Linked DNA regions of Homo sapiens: regions 1 and 2 are each linked to region 3. The links are contacts of gene promoters, found by promoter capture Hi-C in blood cells and fetal thymus (Javierre and others, 2016). All regions are on one chromosome and are shown on one strand. Each heading gives the region's core, a stretch centred on a gene start or on the middle of the fragment in contact. The rest is flanking DNA. Distances are from core to core; before and after follow the strand shown. Region 1 overlaps GAB1 (GRB2 associated binding protein 1). Region 2 overlaps GAB1 (GRB2 associated binding protein 1). Region 3 holds the start of GAB1 (GRB2 associated binding protein 1).

Region 1 (2,979 bases), core at 85-2,584, 51 kb before region 3:
AAATACCACCTTCTGTGAGTATAATGTGAGTGATTTTAGATGGATCTTTGTGCAGTCAGGTGTGTCCCTGGCAGGCTGGTGTAGAAAATGCTCCAATCCTTCTCTGCAGAGTGGACTGGGCAGTTTTCCTGCAGGTGGCCCACCTCTTGCACTCACAGGGGTTTCTGCCCACATGCTCCTCCTTATGCCTTGCAAAAGCTCTGCCTGATTTCTGGCTCAGCCTTGGCTTTTCAAGGAACTGTTTAAAACTTCTAAATATGAATGTATTTAAATACTGCTTCAGGTCTGAAGAAAACAGTTAAATAGATTTTTTTTTCTTTTCTGCTAAAAACTACCTAAAAATTGGTGTTTTTAAGATCTTAAGTGGCATTTATTTTCAACACAATTATTAGAACTCTAGGCCGGGCGCAGTGACTCATGCCTATAATCCCAGAACTTTGGGAGGTGGAGGTGGGCGGATCACCTGAGGTCGGGAGTTCGAGACCAGCCTGGCCAACATGGTGAAGCCCCATCTCTACCAAAAATACAAAAATTAGCTGGGCGTGTTGACGCACGTCTGTAATGCCAGCTACTCGGGAAGCTGAGGCAGGAGAATTCCTTGAACCTGGGAGGTGGAGGTTGCAGTGAGCCGAGATCGCTCTACTGCTCTCCAGCCTGGGCGACAGAGCGAGACTCTGTCTCGCACACACAAAAAAACCTCTATTTGCATTTGCACTTAAATTCCTCCAGGTGTTAAGTTACATTTTTAGTGAAACACACTAAATTGTAGGTAGCACTGTTTGTAGACACCATCATTGCAACACTGATCAACAAAATAGCCACTAGGCACCTACTAGATGAAACTGATCAGTCAGATCTGGACTTGGCCTCAGATTCTTTCTCTGCAAGAAGATTAGAAACATACATGGAATAACTATAATCCCACACAGAAAGCAGTAAGTGCCTTGGGAGTTATATATAGTACTTGGTATAATTAAAAAAGGGAGCATTCAAAAAGGGAGCGCTTATCCTTAGGTTGTAAGGGAAGGGGGTAGGGGCTGGAGAGGGAAATACAGATGTAGAGAGATGCCAAAACAAAGTCAGAAACCCCCTCTGCCCAGCCATGAATGTTCTACCATGTGCTAAGCCATAGTCCCAAATCCCCAAACCCTTTGGACAGAAGCAAGGAGACAACAGCAAATACGTGGTGGTGGCAAAGTACAGCGCAGGCACAAGGTGTTTCTGTTGGGCTGGAATCTAGGGTGTGTGTAAGACTGTGAAGGAAGACAGGATAGGATCAAGATCAGGATCAAGGAGCGGGAGGACCTTAGAGGCTTGGCTTTACTGAGTAGGTAACAGGGACTCCTTGGAAGTTCTTGAGATGGGACTAATATAAGAGCCACACTTAGAGGAGGTGACTGTGGAGGAGGGTGAATGTCCAGGCAGGGAGACCCGTAAGAAGTCAATGGGAGGAAAGAGTCTGACCTACAGGGGTGGCACTGCTGATAAGCAAGAATCGAATGCAAGACAGAGCAGTGAGCTGCAGGAAGAGGGAAAAGTCCAGGAGTTAGGATGCTCCACTTTAAAGATGGAAGCTCACGTCAGTAAGCAGCCTTCTGTGCCTTCATCCCTTTACCTCCACCAGGCTACTTCATGCCTGGCTCCTCAAATCTGTCCCTGAACATTGCTTCTTCAACAATCACTTGCCAGGCATGGTGGCTCACGCCTGTTATCCCAGTGCTTTGGGAGTCCAAGGCAGGTGGATCACCTGAGGTTGGGAGTTTGAGACCAGCCTGACCAACATGGAGAAATCCTGTCTCTATTAAAAATACAAAATTAGCCGGGCGTGGTGGCGCATGCCTGTAATCCCAGCTACTTGGGAGGCTGAGGCAGGAGAATTGCTTGAACCCAGGAGGCAGAGGTTGTGATGAGCCAAGATAGCATCATTGCATTCCAGTCTGGGCAAAAAGAGCGAAACTCTGTCTCAAACAAACAAACAAACAACAACAACAAAAAACCAATCACCTGCATACCAACTCACTGCCCCATGGGCCACTAGTATGCCTAAGTACAAAGTTCTAACTCTACATTTCAAAGGCAGTGATTCACCCTTCTTATCATTCTCTTTACTGTGGCAGAGACTACCAGTTGCTCCTCCCATGTTCATTTCCCCATTGTCTACAGTAGACATCAACAAAAAAATCTTCTGTAAAGGGCAAGATAATAAATACTTTAGGTTTTGCAGGCCATATGATCTCTGCAGCAACTACATGTTGTGTATTACTAATCTGAAAATCCAAAATCTTCTAAAATCTGACACTTTCTGGGCACTGACACAACACTACAAATGAGAATTCACATACCTGACCTCATTTGACAGGTTGCAGTCAAAACACAATCAAAATTTGTTTCATATACAAAATTATTTAAAATATTGTATAAAATTGGGCCAGGCGCAGTGGCTCATGCCTGTAAACCTAGCATTTTGGGAAGGTGAGGTAGATGGATTGCTTGAGCCCAGAAGTTTGAAACTAGCCTGGGCAATGTAGCAAGACTTCATCCCTATAAAAAATCAAAAAATTAGTTGGGCATGGTAGTGCATGCCTTTAGTCCCAGCTACTGGGGAGGCTGAAGTGGGAGAATCACTTGTGCCCAAGAGGTCAAAGCTACAGTGAACCATGATCACACCACTGCCACTCCAGCCTGGGTGACAGAATAGGACTCTGTCTTAAAAATAAAAAATATTATTTATATAAAATTGCCTTCAGGCTATGCATATGGTGTACATGAAACATAAATTTCATATTAGACTTTACTCTCTTCTCCAAGGTATCTCATTACGTATTCACAAATATTCCAAAATCCCAAAAAAATCTGAAATCGGAAATACTTCTGGTCCCATGCATTTTGGATACTCAACTCTTCCACTGCCATGTGAAAGCAGGTAATTTATAAACAAATGGGCACATCTGTGTTCCAATACACTTTAATTTTTATTTA
Region 2 (2,781 bases), core at 271-2,770, 34 kb before region 3:
TTGGATGCTTGAACTGGGTAACCTCAAGTATTTTTGAAAGTCAATGATTCTTCATAAAAACGAGTTCTGTACAGAGCCCTCAGAAATAATACCACAAATCTACAACCATGTGATCTTTGACAAACCTGACAAAAACAAGAAATCGGGAAAGGATACCCTATTTAATAAATGGTGTTAGGAAAACTGGCTAGCCACATGTAGAAAGCTGAAACTGGATCCCTTCCTCACACCTTATACAAAAATTAATTCAAGATGGATTAAAGACTTAAATGTTAGACCTAAAACCATAAAAACCCTAGAAGAAAACCTACGCAATACCATTCAGAACATAGGCATGGGCAAGGACTTCAAGACTAAAACACCAAAAGCAATGGCAACAAAAGCCAAAATTGACAAATGGGATCTAATTAAACTAAAGAGCTTCTGCACAGCAAAAGAAACTACCATCAGAGTGAACAGGCAACCTACAGAATGGGAGAAAATTTTTACAATCTACCCATCGGACAAAGGGCAAATATCCAGAATCTACAAAGAACTTAAACAAATTTACAAGAAAAAATCAAACAACCCCATCAAAAAGTGGGTGAAGGATATGAACAGACACTTCTCAAAAGGAGACATTTATGCAGCCAACAGACACATGAAAAAATGCTCATCATCACTGGCCATCAGAGAAATGCAAATCAAAACCACAATGAGATACCATCTCACACCAGTTAGAATGGCGATCATTAAAAAGTCAGGAAACAACAGGTGCTGGAGAGGATGTGGAGAAATAGGAACACTTTTCCACTGTTGGTGGGACTGTAAACTAGTTCAACCATTGTGGAAGTCAGTGTGGCGATTCCTCAGGGATCTAGAACTAGAAATACCATTTGACCCAGCCATCCCATTACTGGGTATATACCCAAAGGAATATAAATCATGCTGCTATAAAGACACATGCGGACATATGTTTATTGCGTCACTATTCACAATAGTAAAGACTTGGAACCAACCCAAATGTCCATCAATGATAGACTAGATTAAGAAAATGTGGCACATATACACCATGGAATACTATGCAGCCATAAAAAAGGATGAGTTCATGTCCTTTGTAGTGACATGGATGAAGCTGGAAACCATCATTCTGAGCAAACTATCGCAAGGACAGAAAACCAAACACTGCATGTTCTCACTCATAGGTGGGAACTGAACAATGAGAACATGTGGACACAGGGCAGGGAACATCACACCCCGGGGCCTGTTGTGGGGTCAGGGGAGCGGGGAGAGATAGCATTAGGAGATATACCTAATGTAAATGACGAGTTAATGGGTGCAGCACACCAACATGGCACACGTATACATATGTAACAAACTTGCACGTTGTGCACATGTACCCTAGAACTTTAATTTAAAAAAAAAAGAGTTCTGTACTATCAATGAGGACAGCAGGGATATCCCACTCACTATAACATCTGCACAGGACTGTTTCCACTTAACTCCAATCTACTCCCCACCTATTTGTACTCTTTGAGCCTGAAGAGTCTGATCTGTCAAGGACTGCAACAATCCTTGTTCTACACTGGTTGTGTTTAGTCAAAAGGGACAATGGCTGGAGACAGAAGAGCCCAGGGTCAGGGAACAGAACTGCTGGCTGTGTCCCTGTATGTTCTCAGTGGACAGTCTCCCTTGACTGCAGACCTCAGCTCCTATAAGGCAGCCATTTGTACACAGCCAGTGGTTTGATAACATTTCCTCCTCTTTCTTCCTCACGTACAGATATTAGCCCTTGCCCCATACCCTTTTACTTGCCCTTGTATATTCTTACTATACCCTACATTTTTACTGTCTTTTTATGAAATGTTCCCCAAATTATCCAACTTGTGTGTGCCATCCGCCTCCCACCAGGTCCCTGACCAATGCAACACCTAAGTGAGTGCTTATGCCATTTTTGTTTGACCACTTACAAGGACAAAGAGGGAGCACACTAGGTTTTGGAGAACTGTAATTGTTAGACATATCTCCTTTATATTCAGCCAACTCTGTAACTCTTATTCATTAATTTTAGTGCTGCTATGGAAATAACACTAGGCCTTTTGCTTATTTGAAGCCAGTTTTCAAAAGCAGTTATAAAGATGGGGAGACATACAATAGGCACGGGTCACAACGTATGAGTCTCATGTCTCAGCACAACTGCATAGGCAGCTTGACTTCCTGTGCCTTCTGTAATAGCAGCTTCCCGGTTTAGCAAGCATGTTGGCTTCAAATCCAATCATTCCTTCAGAAGCAGGAAGCAATGTCAGGTTATCATGCAACAATATCAAATCTGGGGCACCAACAGCAGTTATGAGGAAATCATATATATATTGTGTTCCTTCTCCAAATATGAGTTTATAAAACAGCAAACACCACAAAACTTTTTTCATCTTCTATTATTGAGGCTGACCTTCTGTGGGAATTACTAGAGCAACAGGATATTTTCATCCTGCATTGATTTTTTCTTATAAAAAGTATATCAAGTGTAAAAACATTGTCTTTTCTCACTGTAGCCAGAGTGAAAAACTAAATGAATTAAAGTGCTTGGTAAGAGCTGGTATTTCTTGGCCAGCTGCGGTTGTTCACACCTGTAATCCCAGCACTTTGGGAGGCTGAGGCAGGCAGATCACTTGAGGTCAGGAGTTTGAGACCAACCTGGCCAACATGGTGAAACCTCATCTCTACTAAAAATACAAAAAAATGGCCGGGTGCGGTGGCTCATAACTGTAATCCCAGCACTCCGGGAGGCCAAGGTGGGTGGAT
Region 3 (2,956 bases), core at 317-2,816:
CTCTGTTCTATACAAGCAAACAGTGACTAACAGGATTAACCTGAGCTCTAATACTGGGTGTAGATATTCCTCAACGACAAACGGGTTCCCTTCGTACAGGCATTAAATTTATATTATATTTAAGGGGGCATAAATTTTGCTTTTGCAAACACATTTTACTAGAAAAATATTTGATCCAGATGTCAGCACAAAAGTGTCATTTCTTTCCTTTGCAAGGGAGCAGCAACAAAACAACCAATGGGGAGGAAGAATAAGATCCCAGACCTCTGAAGAGGACACAGGTTTCCACTAAAGCAAGGTTGATACTTTCAAGGAATATTTTTCCTAACAGCTAAAACGGTTTAACACATAGCATCTTGTATCAATTACACAAACACCATTAAAGCCACTCTGGTTCCCTGGGAAAGGACCGCAACTGAAATCCCTTCTGGCTTCAGCTGTCCCCTCCTGCCGAGTTTGACAGCACATCCAAGGCGCCCAAACACCAGCCACTAGGCTCCCCCCCAGCGCCCTCCTCTCGCAGCAAACCGCCAAGGCTCCCGGGCCAAACTCCAAAGTCCCTCAATTCAAAACCGCGAAAATGTGAACCCTGCTAAGCAAACGGCAGGGCGCGTAATAACTTTTCTTTCTTTCCCTTTTGCGCGCGTTCGATATGCTTGTCTCTACTACCAACTCCTCAGCTCCACAGCCCGCTTCCCGCAACCCATCTCGAGGGGCGGAGGAGAGGGAGCGCCCACCAAAGAAAGGGCTAGTGAGCCCTAAAACCTCGGCAGTTTTCCCGGTGCGGGAGCTTTAGCACACATCAGCCCAATAATCAGATGCAGGAATAAAGCAGGAAGAAGGCTCCTCTCTCCATCGCACCCCATCCTTCCTAAGGAAGAAAAAAAGCATGCAGCAGGAGTTTAGCTGGACGTCTAGGTCCTTTTATGGGGCGAACAGGCCCGCAAAGCAGGCTGTCTGGAACCTGGAGGAAGAAAGTTGTCCGGCCAAGTGGATGCCTGGGCGTGAGGGAGTGCAAGGCACCCTGTCCCGAGCCCGCCAGGGGTAGGGGCCAAGGGGAAAGAGACCGGCATTCGTTTAAGAACCAGCCCCGCGCGCGGCCAGCTGCAGCCGCCGGCGAGCCGACTGGGGAGGGGTGTGGACGCCGAGGCCCGCGGAGTGGTGCCCGCAGCTCTACTTACATAACGCTTCAACTTTTTCTCCGGGGGGGACTTGCGGAGCCATCCGGAGCAGACCACTTCACCACCGCTCATGGTGCGCGCGTCTCGGGCTCCGGGCCGGGCAGCTGAGGGGCGGCGGGCGCGCTCCCGACACAGCCGACGCCTGCCGAGCGCGCAGTGGCGAGAACCTAGCTCTCCTGGTCGCGCACCCCGGACGGACTGGGCGGACAGACTCCACGGTGCGCGGGTTCCACGAGTTCGAGTCTCTCCTCTGCAGGCCCACGAACCTGAACAGAACGCGAGCCGGGGCCGCGGGCGCGCCGGCCTCCTTTCAGTGCGCCCGCCTCGCCTCCAGACGTGCCGTCTCGCCAGCTGCCTCAGCAGCGCTCGGACTCAGCGGGACTCTGCCCCGACTCGGTGCCGGAGCTTCTGTCCTTTGCGCTCCGCCCCCTAGGGACAAGACCTCCCCAGAGCGCTTTCCGAAACAGACACAGCGCTGCTCACACACACACACACACACACACACACACACAATGCCCCGCGCGGTGCCCGCTCGCCCGCCCACCCGCCCTCGGTTTCGATGCGCCCGGAGCGATCCTCCTTCCCTCTCCTCGGGGGAGGGTGGGTCACTTCGCGGCGCTCGGTGAACGCCGAGGAAAGGGGAAGCCGCGAGCCGCCTACGGGCAGCGGGCGCGGGGCTGGTCCCGGGTCACAGAGGGAGCCGCAGGGTTGGCAGCGAAGCGCGGGGCGTTTCTGAGCGGCGGGCGCAGGGAGGTCGCAGGTCAAGCCGGAGGGTGGGTCCGCTCTCGCGGCCGCCGAAGAGGGCGGGGAGCAGCAGAGGAACGAGGCGCTTGGCGGCTTGGCTCCTGGGAGGGATCCCGCTGTCCCGTCCCCTCGCGCTCCTCCCCCGCCGCCTCCCCCACCCCGGGGCTCGCGGCAGGTCCTGAGCGGCTCGGCCCCAGATCCCGATCCCTCCCTCCCTCTCCCGGCCGCCGGGCTCCTTCTTCCTCCCTCTCCTCCTCCCCTTCCCACGTTCAGGCCCGGCTCCGGTTTCTGCCCAGACTTTCTCTGAAACTCCGCCGGAGTGCTTCCAGCCAAAACAACAAGGGCCGGGGGAGGAGACGGACGAAGGGAGGGAGCAAGGGAGGGAGGGAGCGCGAGTCCGAGAGGCACCCTGGGATCTGTAGTTCGGGAAGCAGGAGCAGGGTCCTCCGCCGTCCGGCGGCCCCCAATCGGCTCCTCGCCCGGGAAGACCGCAGAGGCCTCGGCTAGGGCAGAGGCACCGGGGCTTGGGCGCGGGGAAGACTGAGGGACATTCGAATGTTCAGTCCGGGGCTTGCCATCTTGACTCAGCCCGGTGCCAGCTCGGAGCTTGTGCTGTGCTCGAGATCAGGAGTTTCGAGGGTTTTCTTTACTTGAGAGCCTGAAAGGCAAAACCGCGGGGAGACCACCATCCTGCCGGTCCCCGCCGCGCGAGATTAAAGGACAGACCAAGAGGGCGCGGGAGCTACCAGCTTGGAGGGGAGGACAGATGGGGACCCAGGGCTGGCCAGGGCTGGTCTCTGGAGCTGTTCTGCCAGAGTGATGGGGGCGCTTGGCGAGGCCAAGGATTTGGTTGGGTCCTATCTCTGAGACATTTTGAAGTCTCACACCCCTTCCATTTGTTGCCTATTCCACTTAACTTTGTATTTGTTTGAAATCTACTGTTCGGATGCTGGACTAGAAGAGGGACACTTGGCCGGGCGCGGTGGCTCACGCCTGTAATCCCAGCACTTTGGGAGGCCGAGGCGGGCGGA

Evidence for each region. The method cuts DNA at HindIII sites, captures the fragments that hold promoters and counts their contacts. A CHiCAGO score of 5 or more calls a contact.
Region 1: a contact is called between a fragment that was not itself captured here and the fragment with the promoter of GAB1 in region 3, in 3 of 17 cell types (neutrophils, naive B cells and total B cells). The highest score is 12.5, in neutrophils.
Region 2: a contact is called between a fragment that was not itself captured here and the fragment with the promoter of GAB1 in region 3, in 2 of 17 cell types (neutrophils and total B cells). The highest score is 10.9, in neutrophils.

What each region holds. Positions count from the first base shown.
Region 1 is chr4:143,386,135-143,389,113 of GRCh38, reverse strand. The region is part of intron 1 of GAB1 (GRB2 associated binding protein 1); the gene reads right to left. Among named protein-coding and RNA genes, the nearest start is that of MIR3139, 44 kb to the right of the region's middle. The HindIII fragment of the contact is 4,162 bases long and covers 1-2,979 here.
Region 2 is chr4:143,369,180-143,371,960 of GRCh38, reverse strand. All of the region lies in intron 1 of GAB1 (GRB2 associated binding protein 1), which reads right to left. Among named protein-coding and RNA genes, the nearest start is that of MIR3139, 27 kb to the right of the region's middle. The HindIII fragment of the contact is 3,961 bases long and covers 1-2,781 here.
Region 3 is chr4:143,335,486-143,338,441 of GRCh38, reverse strand. It overlaps GAB1 (GRB2 associated binding protein 1), which reads right to left and starts at 1,566. Exons shown (of 10, transcript NM_002039.4): 1 at 1,182-1,566. The coding sequence starts at 1,253. It also overlaps the pseudogene LOC124900789. RefSeq lists enhancers at 827-1,640, 2,550-2,759 and silencers at 1,670-1,719, 1,790-1,849, 1,950-2,249, 2,190-2,357. The HindIII fragment of the contact is 8,165 bases long and covers 1-2,956 here.